Linked DNA regions of Homo sapiens: region 1 is linked to region 2. The links are contacts of gene promoters, found by promoter capture Hi-C in blood cells and fetal thymus (Javierre and others, 2016). All regions are on one chromosome and are shown on one strand. Each heading gives the region's core, a stretch centred on a gene start or on the middle of the fragment in contact. The rest is flanking DNA. Distances are from core to core; before and after follow the strand shown. Region 1 overlaps TMEM131 (transmembrane protein 131). Region 2 holds the start of VWA3B (von Willebrand factor A domain containing 3B).

Evidence for each region. The method cuts DNA at HindIII sites, captures the fragments that hold promoters and counts their contacts. A CHiCAGO score of 5 or more calls a contact.
Region 1: a contact is called between a fragment that was not itself captured here and the fragment with the promoter of VWA3B in region 2, in 4 of 17 cell types (total B cells, naive B cells, M2 macrophages and 1 more). The highest score is 8.6, in total B cells.

Annotation. Positions count from the first base shown.
Region 1 is chr2:97,828,058-97,834,383 of GRCh38, reverse strand. It overlaps TMEM131 (transmembrane protein 131), which reads left to right. Exons shown (of 41, transcript NM_015348.2): 11 at 958-1,019. It also overlaps the pseudogene HMGN1P36. Among named protein-coding and RNA genes, the nearest start is that of ZAP70, 120 kb to the right of the region's middle. The HindIII fragment of the contact is 755 bases long and covers 3,994-4,748 here.
Region 2 is chr2:98,084,499-98,091,349 of GRCh38, reverse strand. VWA3B (von Willebrand factor A domain containing 3B) reads right to left here and starts at 4,183. Exons shown (of 28, transcript NM_144992.5): 1 at 3,987-4,183. RefSeq lists enhancers at 3,454-3,954, 3,989-4,058, 3,955-4,455. The HindIII fragment of the contact is 2,164 bases long and covers 3,217-5,380 here.

The DNA of each region.
Region 1 (6,326 bases), core at 3,122-5,621, 260 kb after region 2:
GTCATCTAAATGGAAGATTGAGGCAGAAAATAGTTTTCTAGTTTCTTAATCCAGTTGCTCATCAGTTCAGTTACGCTGAATCTTGATTTTTACTTCTGGATTTTGTTTAGATATGAGTTATTAAATTACATTTTGACAAAATGTTGAAAGTTTGTTGCAGCTGTTCAGAAAACTCAAATTCTGAAATTAAAAACAACTAAGTAAAGATTTTTGCTAAGGAAAAACTAAGAGCACTTGTAATTTGGGATGTATATGGACTATATATAATAATATGTAGTTAAGATTGAAGACCATATGTTTAAAAATTAGATTTGCTGTTAGTATATTTTTACATTGTAAATTATTAATTTGCTTCATTATGTTTTGCTGGAAAGCTAAAAGATTAGTAATGTCTGACTTCACAAAAAAATAATATTTGGGGGGCTGGGCATGATGGCTCATGCCTATAATCCCAGCATTTTGGGAGGTGGAGGCAGGCAGGGCACTTGAGGCCAGGAGTTCAAGACTAGCCTGGCCAACATGACGAGACCCCATCTCTACTAAAAAAATAATACAAAAGTCTGCTGGGCATGGTGGTACATGCCTGTAATCCCAGCTAGTCAGGAGGCTGAGGTAGGAGGATCACTTGAACCCAGGAGGCTGAGGTTGCAGTGAGCCAAGAATGCCCCACTGTACTCCAGCCTGGGTGACAGAGCAAGATTCTGTCTCATTTAAAAAAAAAAAAAAAAAGTATATATTTTGGGGTTTTCAAAAATCTGGTTTAAGAGGGAACAGTTCTTATAATACACAATGTCCTTATGAGTAAAGCAATTACCACCTAATGTTTCTTTTTATTAATCTTATTGTCATTGTATTTCACAAATTGATAGCTTCAATTTGATATCTTATAAGGTAAAGATTCTAACTTGGCTAAAAAGCACCTTTTTAAGAAATATTTCTTTTCCTCAATTTTAACAGATCTACCAAAAGTTTTAAACCTTCATTTATTAAATTCAGGAACAAAAGATGTACCAATAACAGTAAGTTTTTACTTCTTTTTTCCCCTAATTTATATATTCTTTGTTTTTAAATGTATGACAAAGTTAAAAATAATTAAACCCTTATTCTAAAATAATTATATTTGGTGATGACCTGGTGACACTTTGGTTCTAAGTGTGATGTGAGAAACCTGTTCTGCCCCAGCCACCCGGATTTTAAGGATGAGAGAGAAATGGGCAATCTTTTCAAAGTAAGTTTGAACCAAAGTTCATGAGTTTCTTATACAGGCACAGTCATATAAAAGGCCTGTTCTGATAAATCCTAAAATCTGTGGGCCATGTGTATAGAAAAACAGGTTATAAGGATTTCATCAGATTTGGTTGTTGGAGTTAAGGTATGGGCAGGAAAGAGGAAGAAGAGTCAGATGAATTGGGAAGAAAATAAGCAAAAAAAATGTTGTAGGTAGTGGTAAAGTGCTGTTAACACTTGTCACAGGCTCCCTAACTAGCAGTTATTGAGTTACCGTAGGCAGCACATTATAAACTAAGGCCCTCTCTCCCTCACACATACATACAGAGTAAGTAACTTTTAGGCCATATGGAATTGAGGTGCCGTTAGATAGTTTTAGGAAAAAAAGGGATATCTAAGTTTTGCCTTGGCCCACAACGTCTCTCCCTGATGAGGTCCCCAAGATATATACATGTGTAATCATTATATAGGAAAATAGGACATTTTTATTATAATTTGTGCTGATGCCAGAAACTTAACTTCAGTGAACTGACAAAATGAAATATAGATCATGTGGGCTTGAGATTTAAGGGACCTTTGTCCATCGATGGCCATACCCAGATTTTATCACCAGCTGGTGGAGTAGACCAAAGAGAGAAGAATATACAAACCCCAGCGAGGAAGCAAGAGATGGTCTTCCCAGGTAACCACATTCTGATGCGCAGTGACCTTCCTCACTAGTGGGACCGGGATGCAGGCATTGTCTTCATATCTGACCTAGCATTTCTCCTAGATGGGAAAGTGCCTTTACTTAGCCCAAGCAAACCAGCCTAACTTTTTACGTACAATAAATGGACTGAAACAAGTATCTTTTTCAATAAACATATTATAGGAAAATGAAATTGGCAATTAACCCTAAGAATGTGAATGAAGAACTAGTACTCAGGTCACTTATGACATGGAATTAAATAGGCCCATGTTTGTCCTTTTTCTTATTCACTAAGGAGTTTTAGGATATATTGTAAGTGAACATTTTTGCTCTTACTGGGTCAGGCACTATGCTAGTACTGCTATGTAATAAATGTATTACTTAATACCTATATGGTGCAGTGGTCCTAGTTTTCTAGATAGGAAAGCTGAGTTAGAGCTGCTTTTTTTTTTTTTTTTTTTTTTGGAAGTGACTTACACAACTATAAAAAATGCAAAAATAGGCCAGGCATGGTGGCCTCACGCCTGTAATCCCAGCACTTTGGGAGGCTGAGGCTGGTGGATCACTTGAAGTCAGGAATTCAAGACCAGACTGGCCAACATGGCGAAACCCTGTCTCTACCAAAAATACAAAAATTAGCTGGGCATGGTGGCATGTGCCTGTAGTACCAGCTACTCAAGCTGAAGCAGGAGAATTGCCTGAACCTCAGAGGTGGAGGCTGCAGTGAGCCAAGATCACGCCGCTGTGCTCCAGCCTGGGCAACAGACCGAGACTGTCTCAAAAAAAAAAAAAAAAAAAAAAAAAGAGGTATGTGAAACATGAAAGTATATTATACAGTGTCACTTAGCAATCACATCTTTATGAATATATCATTTTAATTGCATAGTCTATTTCTGTTAAAAACCTATATATCTGTTAATATAATACATCTGTACCTACATCTGTACCTACCTATGTGTGTATCTTTTATAATATCCAAAGCCCAAACTCTGCCAGTGTTTTGGTAGTTTTCTCTTATTCCCGCCTTCATTCACCCATTCAATAAATATTTAATGAACATCAACTGTATGCTAGCTGCTATGCTGACTGAGAATACAGCAGTGAATCAGACCACTGGGGTTCCCTACCCCATCAAGCTCACTGTTTATCAGGGCTCTCTGGAACTCTGGGAGATATTTAGATTTTATTCTAAGTGTAATGGGAAATTATTACAGGATTTTAAACGAGAGTGACATCATCTGATTTATGTGTTGTAAAAGGTCACTGTAGCTACTTTGTGGAGAGTGAACTTACAGACATGGAAGGGCAGAAAGCAAAGGAGACCACTTGGGATCTGATTTAGCAATCAGCCTGAGAAATGATGGTGGCTTAGATTTCCCACCTTATCAGCTATGGGGCAAGCCCACCTACCGTGGAAACTGAGTTTTCAGAGCTCTTCTTAAGGTTTTCCCTGTGTGTTTCAGCATTTTCTGCATAATTCACCAGGCTTAGAGACTATAGATATTTAGAAAGGTTCCTGTCTCCTTTTGTTTCACAAACATAGAATTTTCAGGATTTGCTAAGCAGTGCTAGAAGCTGGAGATCTTTTTTTTAAATTCCCCTTCAGGGAATTCATTCTCTTTCTAAATATAGGATTACTAAAGCAAGCAATTCCAAATAGAAGTTCCTCAACTGCTAACAGACAGGATGCGCAGGTCCAAACTCTCCTAATATGTCTATAATGCAACTTTGAGAAAATGGCTTTCCTCAGCATTTACAAAACATTAGTGCTGTATAAATGATGGAGTAAGTTTGCCTGAGATGCCTTCAGAGGAATGTTTGCATGAGGTTTCCCTTGGTAATTAACAAATCGGAATCATAATATCAGCTTAACATATGCTTTAGTGAACTCATACACAAATTATTAGAAATACAATGTTAAATGCTGAAAGTGCTTTTTTCCTTATTTGCTCAAGTGCTTTTATAAGCAGTTTTAGAATGTTCCGGACCGTTGAATTTCACTTGAGGGTTACTGAGCATTAGTTGGGTCTGAATGTTGTGAGAAAAGCCTAGAACTATATTTAGAACATATGCAAGCTTGCGAACTGCCTTTCCTGGGAAACTTGCAATAGTTTTATACTTCTTGATTATCTTTGAGTTAGCAATAGTCACTAACAGGTTGTTGTATAAATATGCTTACTACAAGGTGTTGATTGTGTATGAGTTGTCATTTAAAGCCACCAGAATGGGCCAGCTACTTAAGTGTTTTGTCTTGGGTTTGTTTGTTGGCTTTTTGTTTCCCTGGAAAATGGGTTTTAACAATTTGGGTTTGGTTTTTTTTTTTTTTTTTTTTTTTTAACTGATAATGAGTGAAGAATTCAGACCATTTGTATAAAACATGAGTTTTCAGTTGAATATTTCTTTGTTATTACTGCAGCGTATTTTAAGGTAGCAATACTAATGTAAAGTTTTTATCTGGTAAGGAAAATCTTAAAGTGGTGTGTTTCACATGAAAAAAATTTCATCAACTATTTTAAATTCTTACTAATAGTGACTATATTTTAACAAACATCCTTGCTTTGCTATTTCTGGCTTGGTGTTGTACAGGCTGATAACACTCAAAAAATATTGTGCTTGTTGTTGATGAACTCCCACTTCTAGCCTTTAAGCATATTGAAAAATGGTCAAGCCTTCATTGTGTGTCCAGAGTTGGTTCCTTCTGGTGGGTTCTTGGTCTCTCTGACTTGAAGAATGAAGCCATAGACCTTCGTTGTGAGTGTTACAGCTCTTAAAGGTGGTGCGGACCCAAAGAGTGAACAGCAGCAAGATTTATTAAGAGCGAAAGAACAAAGCTTCCACAGCGTGGAAGGGGACCCTAGTTGCCTCTGCTGGCTTGGGTGGCTAGCTTTTATTCCGTTATTTGGCTCCCCGCCATGTTCTGCTGATTCGTCCATTTTACAGAGCGCTGATTGGTCCATTTTACAGAGTGCTGATTGTTGCATTTACAATCCTTTAGCTAGACACAGTGCTGACTGGTGCATTTTTACAGAGTGCTGATTAGTGCATTTACAATCCTTTAGCTAGACACAGAGCGCTGATTGGTGCGTTTTTACCGAGTGCTGATTGGTGCATTTACAATCCTTTAGCTAGATACAGAGCGCTGATGGGTGCATTTTTACAGAGTGCTGATTGTTGCATTTACAATCCTTTAGCTAGGCACAGAGCACTGATTGGTGTGTTTACAGTCCTCTAGCTAGACAGAAAAGTTCTCCAAGTCTCCACTCAACCCAGGAAATCCAGCTGGCTTCCCCTCTCAATCCCCCCTCTAAATAGGACACCCCAACTGCTGTTGGGAATTGGGCAATGATCATTCTAGCTACTTCCTACTGGATAAGGGCAAAGAAGGGACCCTGCAGTGGTAGTGTCCTCCAGAGGGGAACTGTCTAGGCCAGTCAAAGGGCCAGTGGGTCGATCCAGGGGTCCTTGGTAGAAGTTGTTAGTTGAGCTTATTTGGGGTTCCATTTGTAAGACCATCTGTAGCTTGATGGCCTCGATCGTAGAGGAAACAAATTTGACAAGGAGATTAAAAATACAGGGCCCAAAGGCGAGTAATAGCAAGATGGCTGTCACAGGACCTAGAAAGGGAAGATGCCATGTTCCCCAACTCCAGAGGTTGGTATAAGAGTTGGAAAGGCATTGAAAGAGTTTGAAAGGCGTTGTCTGATTTCAGAAGCCTTTTCCTGTAAACGCTGTAGTATCCCTGACTGGTTAGTGTAAAAAAACACTCTTCTCCTAAGAAGGTGCAAAGTCCTCCTTTCTCAGCAGTGAGGAGGTCTAGGCCTCAGCAGTTTTGGAGAGTCACTGCTGCCAAAGAGTCTATTTGGGATTGTAGAGTAAGGATAGATTTCATTATTTCTTGCAAACTGTCTGAGAAATCCTTTGAGAGTTTGTGGTAGTAGGATAATGATGTAGATAAACCTGCTATTCTGGTTCCTGTAGCAGTGGCCATCTCTAACCCTATAAGTAGGGGTGTTAGTTGTATGGCCCTGTGCTGAGACACTTGAGCTTTGAGGGGCACAGACCCTATGTCTGATTTCCATAAGATTAGAAGTTAGGATAATATATGTTACACTTTTTTTTTTTCATAATTGAGATTTCATTGGTTGAGGATCGTACAGACATTTCAATTTGTACACAAATCTTAACATACATAACGAAATTCTAAAAAGCCATGTATTGTAATTATTTTTTAAAGTTATTCCAGTGACTTTCCAGCTTAAAATTTGGAAGCAAATTTTCCTTAAGAGGCTATCAAGTACCAGTATCTTCACATGTTGGTCAGCTGTTACATACAGCCCACCAGTTCACAACTCAATAGCACGTACACTACATATTCAAATTTGTAATCTTTCACAGCACAGTAACAAAGTTA
Region 2 (6,851 bases), core at 2,934-5,433:
ACTCATTATTAACACGCCACTTACATGTGAGGAATCGCAAGCTTCGAGGATTTAAAGAACTTGCTCACAGGTTCTGCCACAGCCAGTGAGAAAAGCAGGAGTCAAAGCCATTTCTTAACCACTCTGCTATCTTTACAATTAACCTCCTCCAGCCAGGTCTTATGGGACAAGGCAATCTGCATTCCAGTAGGACTGCATTCTAGTAGGGCCCTAGGTCCTCATCCGGAACGCTAATCTTTATTCTCAGAGCTCAGACTCAATAAGCTTCTTGGCTTATCACTCTCAAACTTTTAAAGATAATGAGGCTGGGTGCAGTGGCTCATGCCTGTAATCCCAGCACGTTGAGAAGATCGCTTGAGCCCAGGAGTTCGAGACTACCCTGACCAACATAGTGGAGGACTCATCTCTACTAATTTTTTTTTTTTAATTAGCCAGGCATGGTGGTGCATGCCTGTAGTCCCAGCTACTCGAGAGGCTGCAGCAGGAGGATTGCTTGAGCCCAGGAGTTCGAGGTTGCAGTGAGCTCTAATTGCACCACTGCACTCCAGCCTGGGCAACAGAGCAAGAACTTGTCTTTAGCGAGACTCAGTCTCAAAAAAAAAAAAAGATAATAATTTCCATTTCAAGGTTTATGTGAATTTGTATTGTCCACATATGTTGAGTTGCAAAGGTATACAAATTATTATTGGTGAAGATCTGGCTTTCTTTCTACAAAGGCTCAATTTGAGGAGAATATTGCAATATTACTTGGAGAGCATCACGTAGGAGTGGAAAAGTTTAGAATCAAAACTCAGTATAAGCCCATTCTGCCACTTTAAGGTGATTCCACCTCTCTAGGATAGTAATACCACCTGCACACCCTAACTCCCAGGGCTATTCAAGGAACAACTGTGCTGATGTATAAGTTATGCGTGGATAAGCACTTTATATGTTGGAAACAGCTATGTGCAAATAAATGATCTAAAAGTCATGGTTCTTTAGTCATTGTATTTTGTTTCATGAGACCCACTTTCATCCCAAGCACTTTTTATCCCCAAGTCTCCAATCATACTGAGCTAGAAAGTTTAGAATCACAGAACATGAAAACAAGGGCAGACTAATATGCCTCAACTTGTTTTTGAGGATCTATCCACAAAGACTGGAGCTGAAAGAAAGTCTTTTAAATTTGGTCAGTTGTTCCAAGAAACAAGAAAGGGAAGCTCAGAAGAAACTTTTTTCTTTACTATTTCATCATTTCCAATTAATTTTTCTCTTCCCTGAAACACACCCACCTCCTACAATATTCTTGCTGAAGGGAGTACTAGGTTTAAAAGGGAGCACTTTTACATAAACTGCCCTAATAAGATTTTGTAAAGTGGATTTGGGAACCTTAAAGAGGGGTTCAGAATAGTCACAGGTGTTGTTTTTAAGCTAAAGGGACATGTTTTTGATCCCCAAAAAAGGCAATCAAAACTTCTCCAGTATAGCTAAGGTGCACGCCCCAGTCCCTTTTGCACTCATATGACTTTTAAAAAATTAATTTTTAAAAAAAGTGTAATTGGCTCTACTGGATCTGAGAACCTGTACAGTCCAGTCTGATTCAGATCTTACCTCCAGCGTTTTGTAGCCTGAGAATATTTGTATTGTCTGAAATACAAATGGAATATTTGTATTGTCTGAAATACAAATGGAATATTTGTATTGTCTGGAAAAAAAAAAAGGAAGGAAAGGGGGAAAGGGAGAAAAGCCATCTCCCAACAGAAGGAATTGTTCCACTCAAGTGGGATAGGAACTGTTCTATCAGAGCAAGGAAGCCTGCTGCGAGCCGGGACGTAGCCCCCTTCTCCCCACCCCACCCCCACTAGCCCGCCTGCTTTCCCACCTCCAGGTTGGTCTCAGACGGCTCTCCTATGCAGACTCTTAGCCTGCAAGTCTCATTTCAAATGCTGCCTCTGCCATTAAGCCTCCCCGAAACCCCTTCACAACCTTCCGCAGCCCCTCCCTGGGAAAACCCTAACTTTTGCTATGATACTTTATCACTAAGGTCTTAGGCACTTCAGGCTTGTCCTCACTAGACTTAAAGACAGTTCAATGACTACGGAGACAAACTACAGGAAGATTCTCAGCACAGGGCCTCATACGCAGCAGGCACTTGGTGTGAGAGTTGAGATGAATAAAACTGATCACTCAGAGCTACTAAGAGAATCCTGATTTTGTTCAAAGAAGGCAAATATCCACAGTGTTAATAAGGCTAATATCAGGAAACAGCTCTTTTAAAAAAGGGATATATTGGCCGGGCACGGTGGCTCACTCCTGTAATGCCCCCTTAAAGTGCCAAAGTGCTCTCTTGGCACTTTGGGAGGCCAAGGCGGGCGGATCACCTGAGGTCAGGAGCTTGAGACCAGCCTGGCCAACATGGTGAAACCTCGTCTCTACTAAAAATACAAAAATTAGCCGGGCATGGTAACACACACGTGTAATCCCAGCTACTAGGGAGGCTGAGGCAGGAGAATTGCTTGAACCCAGGGGGCAGAGGTTGCAGTAAGCCAAGATTGCACCACTGCACTCCAGCCTGGGGGACAGAGCGAGACCCTGTCTCAAAAAAAAATAAAGGGGGATATATTATTTTCTGATAAAACTATGCTATTTATTTATTTATTTACTATTATTCAGAGTTTCCTCAGCTGAGGTTATTATAAATTGGGGAACCAAGTAACCCAGAAGTCGGAAACAACAACATACCGGAGTTGAGCATTGCCCTAAGTTTTAGAGGCCATCCCAAGAACCATACATAGAGTTTGGATAGGAAAGTATTTCCTTAGAAGAAGGAGGAAGTGTAAAAGGAAAAACAAGGAAGTGAAAGTCTGAGCTGAAAATGTGGGCAGGCAAAGCTTTGGGGAAAATAGAAAGGTTAAGCTGGCAACTGTACAAGGGCCCCGTCTACTGGAAGCAGATGCTCCTGGGCTGCCCTGGGCGACAGTCTTGTGAAGTCAGCATGCCCTCAGAGAAAAGGTCCTATGTGCTCGGAGGTTCAGGGACAGTGCAGGGTTGAGAGTCCATTAATCCAGTTTAGACATTCAATAAGCTTCTAGCTACTTTATTATCAACACCCCAAACTTCCTATACCCCTGTTAGTTTCTGAAAAAGAAGTCTGGGCTAGGTGGATATATATCTTGTGATTTAGGTGAATTTGTGAACGATGATTTTTCCAGGAAGAAAGGAAACTGGGACGAAGCTTCATGATGGATCCTGATGCAACTCTTCCCCAGAAACCCTTAAACCTCCTCCCATTTTTTCTGCCCTTAAGGGACAAGGCTTGGCTGTGATCATTGGCTCAAATAATGTGGACAGAGACAAGGATATTGAAACGGACTGTCCCACCGTTGAGAAAATAGTCAAGAAGGCAATATCTGAGAATAATTGGAGTGCTTTAGGAGGAAGGTCATTGCTGAGAAGAAACAGAGCTTCCAAGAAAATGAAAGGAAAAGCTCTACCAAATGGAAACTAAATCTACTTATTAAGTCTTATTTCCATATAAGGAGGGTGAAAGAAACTGATATGATTGTGAAACCATGTAAGTGTTGCTTTGGCTTTTAGACTATACATATTTATCCTTATGTTCAGGAAATGTGTTTCTTCTGGTTCCCATGTTCCCTCCAAAGCCCAGGTGGACTTCATCACCTTGAACTGCTGGCCTATGGCATAGACAGAAACTAGGAAAACCGCTTTTCCACCAGAGCGGCTGGGCGTGGGCTCGGGTGAGGTGTGATGGAAAGAGCTCTAGAGTAGGAGGGGTCGGTACCTTGACCCTCGGCTTGCCCTGGGTAGCGGACGATTAAGTGGGCCAGGGCAAGTCACCGAGCTTTCCTGGTACTGTTTCCGCATCTGTAAAGTGGGCGTGTAGTCCACCTCAGAAATGGCATTTTTCCAAGACCTCCCTAGGCCGCTTGTTGGAAGGCTCGGCACCTCGGCGGCTCTCGTGCGGCAGGCATCGCTCCCACACTTACTAGGCAATATGTCGGGTGGAAGACGTGGCGGCTCCCGCTCAGCAGCCACCCTCCCATCCTCCCGGGCCCGCCTGACCCGAGAGGGCGGGCGAGGTAAGCATCCCGCTGGTGGATAAGGCAGCGATTCCGGCGGGCGAAGGCTGCGCGCCGGGGGCGAAGGATTCCAGCTGTTCTAGGTCTCTGTGACCCGCGCCTCTGGTTCCGAGCGCGGTCTGTTGACGACGGCGTCTCCGCGGTTGCCTGGACACGGCCAATCACAGCGCGGCTCCTGGAGCCGGCCCCGCCCACAGACCGCGCCCTCACTGGGGCGATGGCTGCGGACCGTGGCCAAGAGGGCGGGGCGCCGAGGCCGTCACCGAGCCAGGTGCGGAAAGCCGGCGTCCGGAACCACCCGGGCCGGGACGACCTCCACCCCAGACCCCCAAACAGAGGCCACGCTAGAGGGACAGGGCGAGTGGCGTTGCCCCTTGCGCCTACTGTCAATGGGAAAATTAACAACAGCGGAGAATATGAATGAAAGAATGAATGAATTAACAAACAAATACACTGATGAGCTGGGGTAGAAATATAGGGTGCGAGCAGACAGGGGAGGAAGGCGCCAGAGGCCGAGGAGAGGCGAGGAGACTGCGGGAAACGCTACAAACGAACTTCTTTTCATACTTTTCAGCAGAGCATTGACCCCTGTGTAGTTTTAATTTTCACCTCACCACTGTCAGGCGATGCTCTCTTCCTTGCACAGTTCAGAGAAAGACGCTTTAAAAGAGGTGGGGCAGTTCGTTGTAGCTCAGCCACTGGACGTGGGCGGAGCTGAGACAGACAGAAGGGACAGGGAGCTGCAATTTTGCAATTGTGGAGGCAGGGGCTGCAGTTGCCAAGAATATTCTTACCTGTTTGACATGAATATTTCTATAGGCATTATTTTCTCCATTCAGCTTTGTTTTTAACCTTTGTTTCAGTGTTACCTTATCAATTAAGCAAAAGGCTCTAAATATTTTCCTATTTTTCCAGTCACCAGGAAATAAAATTGTGCTTATGAAAAGTATCTTTAAAGTCTTAATAAAAGACCCCACAGTAAGTATTGTTTTTAGGGTATTGGGATAGTAAACGATTTTAGATTTTAAAATTATAGAACTGACCAGATCATTTGCAGGTTTTTCAAAGAACTAATAAAACATAGTTAATGTTAGAACTGAGTAATTCTGTCCCCCCAAAAAAAGTCTGCTTCATCCACAGGAATTTATTTCTCCTGCATTCTTTTAATGCCTCTATCATTTAAAAAGTACTGAAAGATTTCATTCCATATCACAAATCATTCCTGGCAGTTATTAGTTTATATATATTTGGCCCTGCAAATGAAACCTGCCATCCACACCACCAAAAAACAAGCAAAAGCTTGATAGTACTGAAGACTGTTCAGAAGGGAGTAAAACACCAGCCTCGCCCATGTTTGCCAATGACCCATTAATCCTTGCTGTCCACACCCTGCCACACTAATATTCTTGGGTCACGGGGGTGAGACAGAGCACACAGCAACACATAGCCAAATGCCCTGCCTCACATGGTCACGCCAGGCACTCTTGTTCCCACCTTCACCCCATGCCTGCTCCTTTCCCTAGGACACTTGCCACATACGTGCAAGTCACCAAGATGATCTGTCCCTATCTTTCGTGTTTATGTGTCTATAAGCATACATTCTGTTGAAAATGTGAAACATTACTTACTTAAATTGTAGAATGATAAGTGAGTAGAAGTTTAAGGTTATTTTGAAGCATTAAATAGTTGGTATGGACTTCAGTTTAGCTAGTTACAGAATGGTTTGCCTCATTTTTATTGAGTTATTTGAAATAAGAAAACCTTTAGCACAGTGGTGATACACTACTATACTGAACTTTTGACAAATTTGTTTTGAGTTTACATTTTTACAGATAATTTGTATCTTTCCTTAAACCTCAGTAAGCGACATTGATCAAATCACTGCCATCTTTGATGTCAAACTTCTGGACTTTACCATTAAGGGCTCAAATTATACTTTCAGACTTTTGCTCATTGCCTCCAACACAAACCCCCATCCCAGAGAGACCCACCTGGTCCCTGCCTCTGAGCACAGATGACTTTACTCAGGCCACCCAGATTACCACAGTTTGGGAATCACCGTCCCTTCAGGGTCAGCTCTAGCTCTTCTCTCTCTCCCCAAAGCCCTCCCATGGATGCTGCGGCCCTAATAACTTCTCTCTACCTGTACAGTCTCAAAGCATTGCTTGCCAGTACCACACTCTTGGCAACCATGTACAAGCCTTTGACAAGCCTTTCGTTGTTATTTGACCTTTGTGCTGTTTACTTTTCAGGTTCAATGGGTTTTCCTTTTCTTTATACAAGTCTATCACTGCCACTGCTTGGGCTTATGGCCATGATCAGAATGTTTGGTGGAGGAGGGAGGGTGATAAAGGAAATGAAGGGAGGAAAAGCATTTTCCTAAGCCCACTGCAAAAACTGGAACCAGAGGAGACGGAGAATGTTAACTCCTTGTATATATGTGTGAGAAAGAACCTGAGCTGGAATTAAAACAGAGGCACTCCCTCTGAAGAGGAAGGAGAAACTGAGAGAGTGAGGCAGTTCCTGCTGAACCTTTGTTAGCTCTTGTGGTGAAGGGAGTTTTCGCCATCAGGGGCAGCCTTGGGAGAGGTAGGTGGGGACAGGGGCCATCACGGGGAGGTAGAGCTCAAACAGAGGTTTCTCTATGCTGTGATGTTCTTGAGTTCAGCATTCATTATTTGGGACAATGAATGTAGACTCCTGGCTCTCAATCTAACATCTTTGATGAGGGTCAGAGCTTTTTTACTACCCTTGGCAAAGACTACGTTCACT